2 separate regions of the Homo sapiens genome follow, and region 2 is linked to region 1. The links are contacts of gene promoters, found by promoter capture Hi-C in blood cells and fetal thymus (Javierre and others, 2016). All regions are on one chromosome and are shown on one strand. The core of a region is centred on a gene start or on the middle of the fragment in contact, and the rest is flanking DNA. Distances in the headings are between cores, read along the strand shown.

Region 1 (4,628 bases), core at 1,003-3,502:
ATGTTGCCCAGGTTGGTCTGGAACTTCTGGCCTCAAGGGATCCTCCCACTTCAGCCTCCCAAAATGCTAGAATTACAAGCATGAGCCACCACACCTGGCCCATTCCTTCACTTCGTGCAACATAATTGCCATCAGAAACCAGACTTTTTTTTTTTTTTTACTACAGAGACTTAAACTTTTACAAAAGGAAGATGTTTTTCTCATTTAAATTGTCATTCTAGGGACAGAAAGTAAGTTTTGAAAAGAAGTAGCTTTTATGGAAGAGAGGTGCCTGAGAATTTCAAAAGGATTTAAGACAAGGGGAATGAGAAGAGATTGAATGAAAGAAGAGAAAACAGAGAGAAAGAGTAATTAAAAAAAAGAAAAGAAAAGAAAACAAAGATAATCCCAAAGAGCAGTGTGCACAGTTTTGCTGCAATCAGTACCATTCTGGTCAAGTCTCCGTCATCTGCTCTAGGCTTAGTTCCTCTCTGCCCTAGGCTGCTTCTGGTAAAACCGCACGCTCAGCTTGTTGGGCGTCTTCATGGAGCCTGTTATTTGCTGTGGGTCTAAGAAAGGGAAAGCTTCAGGCTTCAGGCATCTGTACCTCCTATCTGTTCTCAGCTCCATGGAAATTCTTAAGGGATGGGGCTATAGATAAGAGAGTGGGAAATGGAGATCAAGGTCTCAAATGAAAGGCAGGGTGGTTTGATTTTTAAGCTCCCCTGATACTTTTTATTTATATATTTGCTGCTTCTAGAAAAACCAAAAAAGGAAAGTGATTCATACATAGAATGCCTGTACAAATAGCAAACCAATAACTACCCCCAGCAGATTCTGGCCCTTGCCAGGGTGCGGTTTCAGAGCTGTAAAAGGCAAGGGATATGTACATTGAAATGACCCAGTCCCAGAATATTTTAGATTCAGAAAAGGTCAGAGACTTTCGTAACTAGCAATGACCTCCAGATTAGGGACCATGAATGTGCAGAGTGAGGACAAGGAAGGGGCCTAAAGCTGGGTCTACTGTAGAATAAACAGAATCATTTAAGGTTAATTATGTTCTGATGTGGCCTCCTTAAATTCTTTCAGGCTGGGGACAATTTCTAGCCCTTTAAGATCAAATCAGTGGCTTTGGACTAGAATCTGCTTAATAAGAATGAACTCCAAAGGTGAAAAAAAAACATAAAATCTAAAAATCAAAGGATATGCCTTTATAAATGTGAAAGTTTAGTTTGGCTCAATGTTGGTCAGTTTAGAAATGTGGGAGTAATCGGAGAGATGGCATAACTGGGGGCGGGAGGCGGGGCGGTGATTATACCCCTACCACTACCTAATCCTCAGGGGCTACCAGTTACTTGCTGTACACACTTTTAAAGTACTTTCTAATTGTGGACCATGAGTGGCAGAGTACTGCGGGCGGAGGCTTTTTGCTGAAAGCAACATTGACTTTTATTTCTAGGGAAAGTCTTGTCTGTAGATGAGCACCGTGGGGCAACGGAGAAAATGCTGACTTTCTTGTTTAAAAAAAAAAAAAATTTCCGTAAGCGGCCCTCCAATGGTCCGTCCACTCAGCAGGCCAGCTGTCCCAGGCCTCTGCCAGGGAGGGAAGACGAGTGCTTCAGTGCATGGCTTCGGTGAGCCCTTTAAATCCAGCTTCCCCTGCCCCCACCAAGAGGCTCCCTTTCCCTGACAGGTGTTTTCCCAACTCCGGAGGCCCAGGATTTTGGGGAGTGGCTGAGCCAATAAGATTTCCCTTTGGAAGGGGGGGGGAAGGGCGTGGCTAGTTGGGTCAGAGCATGGGCGGGGTTTGCGCGGCTGAGCAGAGCCGGCCTGGTTGCGTGGAGGGTTGTTTTATTCCCACCGCCCCCCGCACCTTTTTTTTTTTTTTTTCTGGAGTCTTATTAATTTCTCTGTGGGCTGCAGCTGGAGACCGCGGAGCGCTGGAAATGACGCTCGGAGCTTTAATTACCGCAGCCGCCGGACAAGTGTGAGGAAAGCTGAGAGGAAAAAGAAGGACGGGATCCGGGGAGAAGCGAGAAGCTCCCCCCGCCCCGCTCCCCTCCCGATTTGGACTGGAGGTGCAAGGAAACTGAAGAAGGAGCAGAACATAGCCCGGCTGCGGGGAGAGGCCGGAAACCTACCGCCTCTTTGCAATCAACTTTTTTTGGAAACCTTTCGCCCCCCTTCCTTTTTTATTGTTGACCAACCAGTGAGAGAGAGAGAAAGTGAGGAGGGAGCGAGCAAGCGAAGGCTCACGCGGGGAAATAGCTGCACAGTCCGGCCCAGAGCGCCAAGCGCACACACCGAGCACACTCCCACACGCGCACACACGCGCTCACACTCGCCCCCTCCTCGGGCCCCGGCCCTGGACCCGCGGGCGCGGACTCGGTCGCCCGCCCTGGGAGTCGCCACACCGCGCGCGCCGCGCCCGCCCCCCTCGCACCCCCACGCGCGCCCGGCTGGGGGATCTCCTCCGCGTGCCCGAAAGGGGGATATGCCATTTGGACATGTAATTGTCAGCACGGGATCTGAGACTTCCAAAAAATGAAGCCGGCGACAGGACTTTGGGTCTGGGTGAGCCTTCTCGTGGCGGCGGGGACCGTCCAGCCCAGCGATTCTCAGTCAGGTGGGTTCCTTCTGGCACTCCGGTCGCCGAACCTGCAGCCGCCGGCGGGGCTGCCTCGAGTGGCTCCCCTGCCCTCTTCACCCATCCCGGGAGGCGTGGAGGGACCGCTTGACCGGGGCCTCTTCCCTGGGCTTTCGGTCACCCCTCTTTCCATTTGAAACTTACCCTGTATGTGTGCGTTTGCTTTATTTATCGTGAAAAATCACTCTGAGTCCCTCTTTTCTCTCCTTAACCCCCTGCTTTTCTTTCCCGAGCGTTTTGTTTGGGAGCCTAAGCGGGATCCCTTCTGGTGGCGCCTGTTGTTCGGGACATGGGAGACCCAAATCCCCAGTCAGAGGAGACTCTTCTGTCCCTGTCGGGTCCCCGAGGGCAGAACCCGCACCGCCGGGGCCGCGGTCCTGGGGCGGTGCTGGCTGGGCCTCTCCCGAGCCGAGCCCGAAGGGCGGTGGAGAGCGGCGCTCAGAAAATCGGGCTTTGCACCTGTGTGTGCTGCTGGCGACCGCTGCGCCCCCAGTCGCCCGAGCCTTGTGGCGTCAGACGCAACTCGCGCCCAGCCCGGGCAGCCGGAGTGCAGCAGGCGGGCGCGCCTCGGTCCGGGGCCCGGAGTTCTGGGCCTCTTCCGCCGGCTTCCCGGAGCCCTCTCCCCATTGACTTGAGGGGCGCTTACTCGCCTGCCTGACCTCTTAAAAAAAAAAAAAAAGGCTTGGCACACTTGAGCCAGAAGCCCGGCCTTCCCGTCGGTTGCCGTGTTTGGCTCCGGGAAGAGTTCTTCCTGTAGTTCAACTTGCTATTGGCCGGAGTCCTTCAAACTTGTCTGTTTACTGCCCGGCCAGGCTGCCGAGCCTGCGGGTCACTGGATCCACCCGAGGCGAAAGCGGCAGCGGCGATGGGTGCGCGGCCACTGCTTGCTGGAGAGCTCGAGCCCCAGGTACCTGGGCAGGCAAAGGGCTAATTGACCCCGAGAGGCAGCGCGGCGGGGCTGGCCCGCCACGGCTTGCAGGACTAATGACAGCACCTGCAGTGCAATGGAGCTCAAAGTTTCTGACACTAGAGTTTCCTGGGGATGAAAGTGGGACGGGAGAGGTCTGAGGAGGACCGGTGTCTTGACGTGGCCAAGGGGTGCCTTTTGGAGAGCCAGAGAGATTTCCGAAACCATCCAGGGATGGTGACTGGAGCGTGGGAAGTAGCTTGAGGTGATAAAGCCCCCGGGAGTGGCGATAGGGAGCGCTTTAGGCCCCCGGAGGGTGTCCTTCTGACCTCACCAAGAAAACGGCTAGCTGTAGTTTTCCCGCTCCGCCGCCGCCGCCGCCGCCGCCTCCTTTGCCTAGTAAATAACAAGTTACAATTATCGAGTCTTTCAAAATGACCTTCGAATGGCACATGTGAGGCGTTTGTGCTGGCCGTTTGCACCCTCCCAATTACTCCGAAATTCTTCACGCATACCAGGTCCCGCGCTCCAGCCACCTCCGGAATCACACCAACACGGACTTGACATTCCAAGCGGCCTCTTAGATACATCTCTTTTTATCTCCCTCCCCACTTCGAGTCCCTTCATATTTTCCCTCAATGGGTTGATTATGCACATTGACCCATTCAAAGGCATTGGCGACCGACATGCAGGCTTAGCCGAGAGGAATTTCTACGAGGCGACCTACTGGGGGCTGTCTGGTTCAGCCTCTGCCACTGGGGGACCCCGCTCCGAGTCCGCAGCAATTTGGTATTAACTGTGCGGCTCCGAGTTGAGCTATGCCGAAAAGCCCTTTTCAGAATTTCTGCAAGGAATGTAATCCAAATTAGTTCTGCAGCTGTCCTCTTCCTCGTCTCAGGCGACACTAGCTCGCGCCCTCGCTTCGTCTCTTCTCGTTTCCCTGGGCGAATTGTCAGACCCACAAGTGAGCCCATTTAGAGCGCGAGGATTAGCGTGCCATTGTTGTTCCGTGTGTGACTCTGTACTTGAAATTCTGGGGGCACAAAGGCGAGCCTCACTTGTTCAAAACACAAAGTGATCCAGATGAAAGGGCCG
Region 2 (5,194 bases), core at 1,861-4,360, 390 kb after region 1:
TATCACATGTTTTATACTCTTAACCTATGTATATTTTTAGTGAGGGGAAAAGATGCAGACAGATGCATTTATTTAAGCAAATTAGAAAGCTTAATTATGTTAAATAAAATATTCCATTTTCATTCATATTTAATATATGAAATATTGATTGTATTTAACATAGACTTGATTGCAGTAACCTTTTGCAAGGTGGGTACCGAGTTATGGAACCAATATTTCTGTTGGAGAAGGTTAGGGTTATGGCCAGTATTACTGTCATTATGTTTTAAGTGGCAGAGGCAACCATTCTTCTTGAGCAACCTGCTATGAAGGCCAAGCATGCATGAACAGAGTTTAGTGCCATAATCAAATGAAACTTACATTGAAGGTTATCTCACATGAATTTAATGATATGCATAATTGTTATTCTACTGCATGATAATTAGGCATGAATGTAAGCAGTTCTTATAAATGAGAGTAATTTGTAGGAATTTTGCACAGCCAAACCAAGCACAAGAAGAATGAGTCTGGCAAAATAATGGATAATCTTAAAAGGTGAGAGTCTAAACTGCAGCCTGTGTTCCTCAGCACACTGTTTCTTAACCCATTGGATTCTCAAAATTATCTCATCTTGGGGGAAGGAAGTAAGGCAAAGGAGGATCGAGGGAAAAAAGAGTAGAAGAAAACATTCATGTTATTAGTTGTTAGAGGTCGAATGTGTGCCTGTAAAAGATATGCTGAAGTTCTAACCTCTAGTATTGTAGATTGTGACCTTATTTGGAAATAAGTTGTTGTACATGTAATTAGGGAAAATGAAATTATTCTGAAGTAGGTAAACTCCTAATCCAATATGACTGGTGTCCTTATAGGAAGAGAGTCATGTGAAGACAGAGATGCAGGGAGAACACCATGTGCAGATGGAGGTAGAAAGTGGAGTTATCTTGCCAAAAGCCAAGGAATGCCTGGGGCTACTAGAAACTGGGAGAGGCAAAGAAAGATCCTCCCTTAGAGGCTTCAGAGGCAGCATTGTCTCCAGCACTTTAATTTTGGAGGATTTCTTGCCCCCAGAACTGTGAGAGGGTAAATTTCTGCTTTTCTAAGCCACCAGTTTATGGCACTTTATTACAATAACCTTAGGAAATGAATACCCGGTTTTGCAAGTTTCGTCTTCCACTCTGATTCTGGAAAAATGGGTATTTTATAAATGAACAAATATCTGTTGAGTGCCTGCTGCTTGCCTAGGATTCCTTTAGATACTGGAGTTAAGTGTTCCTGATGAGATAAACATGGTCCCTGTCCTCAAGGGGTTTATAGTCTATGACTTGCATGTTCTTATTCCCATGACACTTTGTATTGTCTTAAAACACAAATTTCAATTTTGTTAGAATCATTTGTTGCCATGTCGGTCTACTCCACAAAATAGAGAAATCTTAAGGGCAGGTGCATAATCAGTTCAGAAAGCAATGCTTAGTGAATGAAAAAGAAAGAATGAATGAATTCAGTTTGAGGATGAAAAAAGAAAGACATTATTTAATGGAGAAACAGGGCTAATGGAAGGGTTGTATGTATGCATATGTACATGTTTTATTTTTCTAAATAAGAGCATTTTTCACATTAAAAATAAGACCATATTTGAAACATTTTAACTGCATATGCTACTGTGCCGCTGTTTCTATTTCTACCTTCCTGTAAGTTAGCAAAATACTTTTTTATTTGGTAATATTGTAGACTTGTTGCCTTCAAATATTATCCGATTTCATAAGTTGTTTATTTTCATGTTCAATTTACTACAACTTTTAACTCTTTATAACCCATTTTATTTTATGGATCTATAAAAACCAACACATTTTTTAAAAAAGAGTACATGTGACGAGCACTATAGTTTGAAAGTTCTGTGTCACTGTATGTGAACTTTTAAAGGTGATACTCCAGGCAGCAATTGGAGGCTTATAAACAGGAATGTCATGAAAGATAAATTCATCATAAATTACTTTTCCAAATCTCATGTATGTGAATTTAGAAAATCAAATTTTTTAAAATTTTTTTTTAATTATTATATTTTAAGTTTTAGGGTACATGTGCACATTGTGCAGGTTAGTTACATATGTATACATGTGCCATGCTGGTGTGCTGCACCCACTAACTCGTCATCTAGCATTAGGTATATCTCCCAATGCTATCCCTCCCCCCTCCCCCCACCCCACAACAGTCCCCAGAGTGTGATGTTCCCCTTCCTGTGTCCATGTGATCTCATTGTTCAATTCCCACCTATGAGTGAGAATATGCGGTGTTTGGTTTTTTGTTCTTGCGATAGTTTACTGAGAATGATGGTTTCCAATTTCATCCATGTCCCTACAAAGGACATGAACTCATCATTTTTTATGGCTGCATAGTATTCCATGGTGTATATGTGCCACATTTTCTTAATCCAGTCTATCATTGTTGGACATTTGGGTTGGTTCCAAGTCTTTGCTATTGTGAATAATGCCGCAATAAACATACGTGTGCATGTGTCTTTATAGCAGCGTGATTTATAGTCCTTTATTTTAAAATAAAATATAATTGTTTATTTACTATTCTTAAACTGTGGTATCTTTGATGTATTAAGTCTTTCAGGAAACCAACCATGTCTTTCTCATCTTTGAAATATCCCTTTATCTCCATCTCTCCACATTTCTCCCATCTCTTTCATCCTCAGCTCTTTGAAAGTACCTAGGGCTTTGTATTACTTATGTTTCTTTCCCAAGATAGTAAAGGGAAATAATGCCATCCTATATGTTTTTCTGTGCCATAAAGGAATTCAGAAAACAATAATTTTATTTTTCTTGTACCTCAGAGATAATACACAAACACACAAACTTAATGATACTTTTTCCTTCTTTTTTGAATTATGCGAGGTATCTGCTAATAAGTATATTCCTCTTTGTAGATACAATTTTCTGAATCCAGCTAGTTTTTAGTCTATATTCATTGCATAAAAAAGTAGAATAATCCTGTGTATGCCTCTAGCTGCAATAGAAATCGGTACCAATTATGCCATTGTACTTTTTCACTCTGAATAAAAAAAAAAAAGAAAATACTCTTTGGGAATTGTGCTGCCCCCTGGTGATGAATGGAATAATAAAATAGAACCTTTAAATAAGTTTACTAATAACATATTGTTCATTAATAAATGCAAAATTTAACACAAAGTCTGCACAAAAGGTAATTCAATAAAAAGTGTGCATCCACAACTTAGTCATCTGATATTACAGTGATTATTAGGCCAATCTTAGAAATGGAAAGATGGAGAAAGAAGGATAAATCACAGAAAAGGGACCACAGGCTTGAGAAAAATAAGGATTCCAACTCCCCACAATTGCAAATATGAAGAAACTTTATGTTACCTCAGTTTAGAAAGCCAGTTTCTTCACGGAGGGTTAATGGTAGGCTTCAGATAATGACAGCAAAACAAAACTTTACAATGTTTCTCAAACTAACAAAATTTGATTTTATTGGATTTGATTTTATTTCTGAGAAGTCTTATACCCTAAAGTAGATTTTCAATACATACATCCTCAATTTATTCAATTCTGCTGAGAAGATGCTTCTTTCCTTTCTCATATGTTTACAGAGATTTTTAGAGTTATGTACTGTGGTAGATAGTAGTTTGTGAGTGCTTCATTTTATATCTCTGAGTTTTATCCTGTGTGCTTTAGGATATAAAAATCCACAGTTGATGTCTCATTCTGAGTGCTACTTAGAGGCAATCTAGTCTAGGTAATTCTGAACATAGAATTTTAGAATAACAGTGACCTTACAGATCATCCTATCTAACTCTTAAATGATGCTGGATTAAATCTTCACATTTTATATAATGAAGAAATTCAATTATTTCACAATAATATTGTAATTCTTCTTTTGAAAGTGTAAAGACAGGGCACCATGACTCACGCCTGTAGTCCAAACACTTAGGGAGGCTAGGCAGGTGGATGGCTTGAGCACAGGAGTTCGAGACCAGCCTGGGAAAAATGGCAAAACCCCATCTCTACAAAAAAAAAAAAAAAAAAAAAAAAAAAAATTAGCTGGGCATGGTGGCATGCCCCTGTAGACCCCACTACTCAGGAGGCTGAGGTGGGAGGATCACTTGAACCCCGGAGATGGAGGCTGCAGTGAACCAAGATCCTGCCACTGCAAGACAGCCTGGGCAACAGAGTGAGACCCTGTCTCAAAAAAAAAAAAAAAAAAAAAAGTCTAACAATGACAACAGAGCTTCTCTCTGCCAACTTTTTCCCCCAGATATTCCTTTCTTCTGTCTTGTCCCCATATCAGTTTTACCCTATTTTAACCAATGCCTTTTTAGATAGAGAGATTCTTGGGTGTTAAGGGATAACTGGGTGGGAAGAAATGTCTGGCACCATTCTGCTACTGCCTTTCCAAATCAATTGAGAAAATAAATCTAAAGATGTGCACAGACTCCACTGCACTCACAGAATTGGTGTTTGTGCACTGTTAATTAAATAAACATTAAATAGAGTGAATGCTTGCCGTAGTTAGGGACGTCTTTGCAAAAAGCCCCCTAGCTGTTCAGGGATAAATAATGTAGGAGTACCAGAGGAGTTTATGTATTGCTGGCCTTGCTATGGAATCTCAGTGCTTCAGAGCCAACACAATGTTTTATGCAAGTTAGATCCCCAGGCGACACTTGGTCCTCAAGTTTGCTGACTTTTCAAGTAGAAGGAGAAGAAATAGTGCACAATTTCAAATGAAGAATACTTACTGAGCTAAGAATTGTTTTTCTACTAGCTTAGCACCATATGCTTCTAGAGTTATATTGTCAACAATTCTTGGCACTTGTGTATTTGGCTATTTATTTAATGTTGAGGCTGAAAACAGGGTGACATCGGCAAAAGGCAGAGAACAGAATAAAACAGAAAATAGAAGTCCCAGCAAGGCAGTTTGCAGTCTGTCACCATTCAGGATAAGAGAAATAGTGGGCATTAACATTATTGAGGAGCCCAATCTAAACATATAACTGAAACACTAAATATTTAATTCATTACCTCAGCTAAATTATTGGGCTGAAAGCTGGAGATACTGGCCACAGCAAAGTCAAACAATAATGTCAAGATGCCAGGATAATATGGAACTAAATGAAATTGCAGGCTTTTGTCAGACCTCTTTTATGAGAAAGGGAGGAGTAACCAGGCTCTTTAGTGGAGACACACCAGGAAGC

Evidence for each region. Contacts are between HindIII fragments. The CHiCAGO score rates a contact against its expected background, and 5 or more counts as called.
Region 2: a contact is called between a fragment that was not itself captured here and the fragment with the promoter of ERBB4 in region 1, in 3 of 17 cell types (megakaryocytes, M2 macrophages and erythroblasts). The highest score is 6.2, in megakaryocytes.

Annotation. Positions count from the first base shown.
Region 1 is chr2:212,536,426-212,541,053 of GRCh38, reverse strand. ERBB4 (erb-b2 receptor tyrosine kinase 4) reads left to right here and starts at 2,252. Exons shown (of 28, transcript NM_005235.3): 1 at 2,252-2,605. The coding sequence starts at 2,524. RefSeq lists an enhancer at 3,221-3,721. The HindIII fragment of the contact is 6,206 bases long and covers 566-4,628 here.
Region 2 is chr2:212,146,003-212,151,196 of GRCh38, reverse strand. All of the region lies in intron 1 of ERBB4 (erb-b2 receptor tyrosine kinase 4), which reads left to right. Among named protein-coding and RNA genes, the nearest start is that of MIR548F2, 280 kb to the left of the region's middle. The HindIII fragment of the contact is 6,037 bases long and covers 92-5,194 here.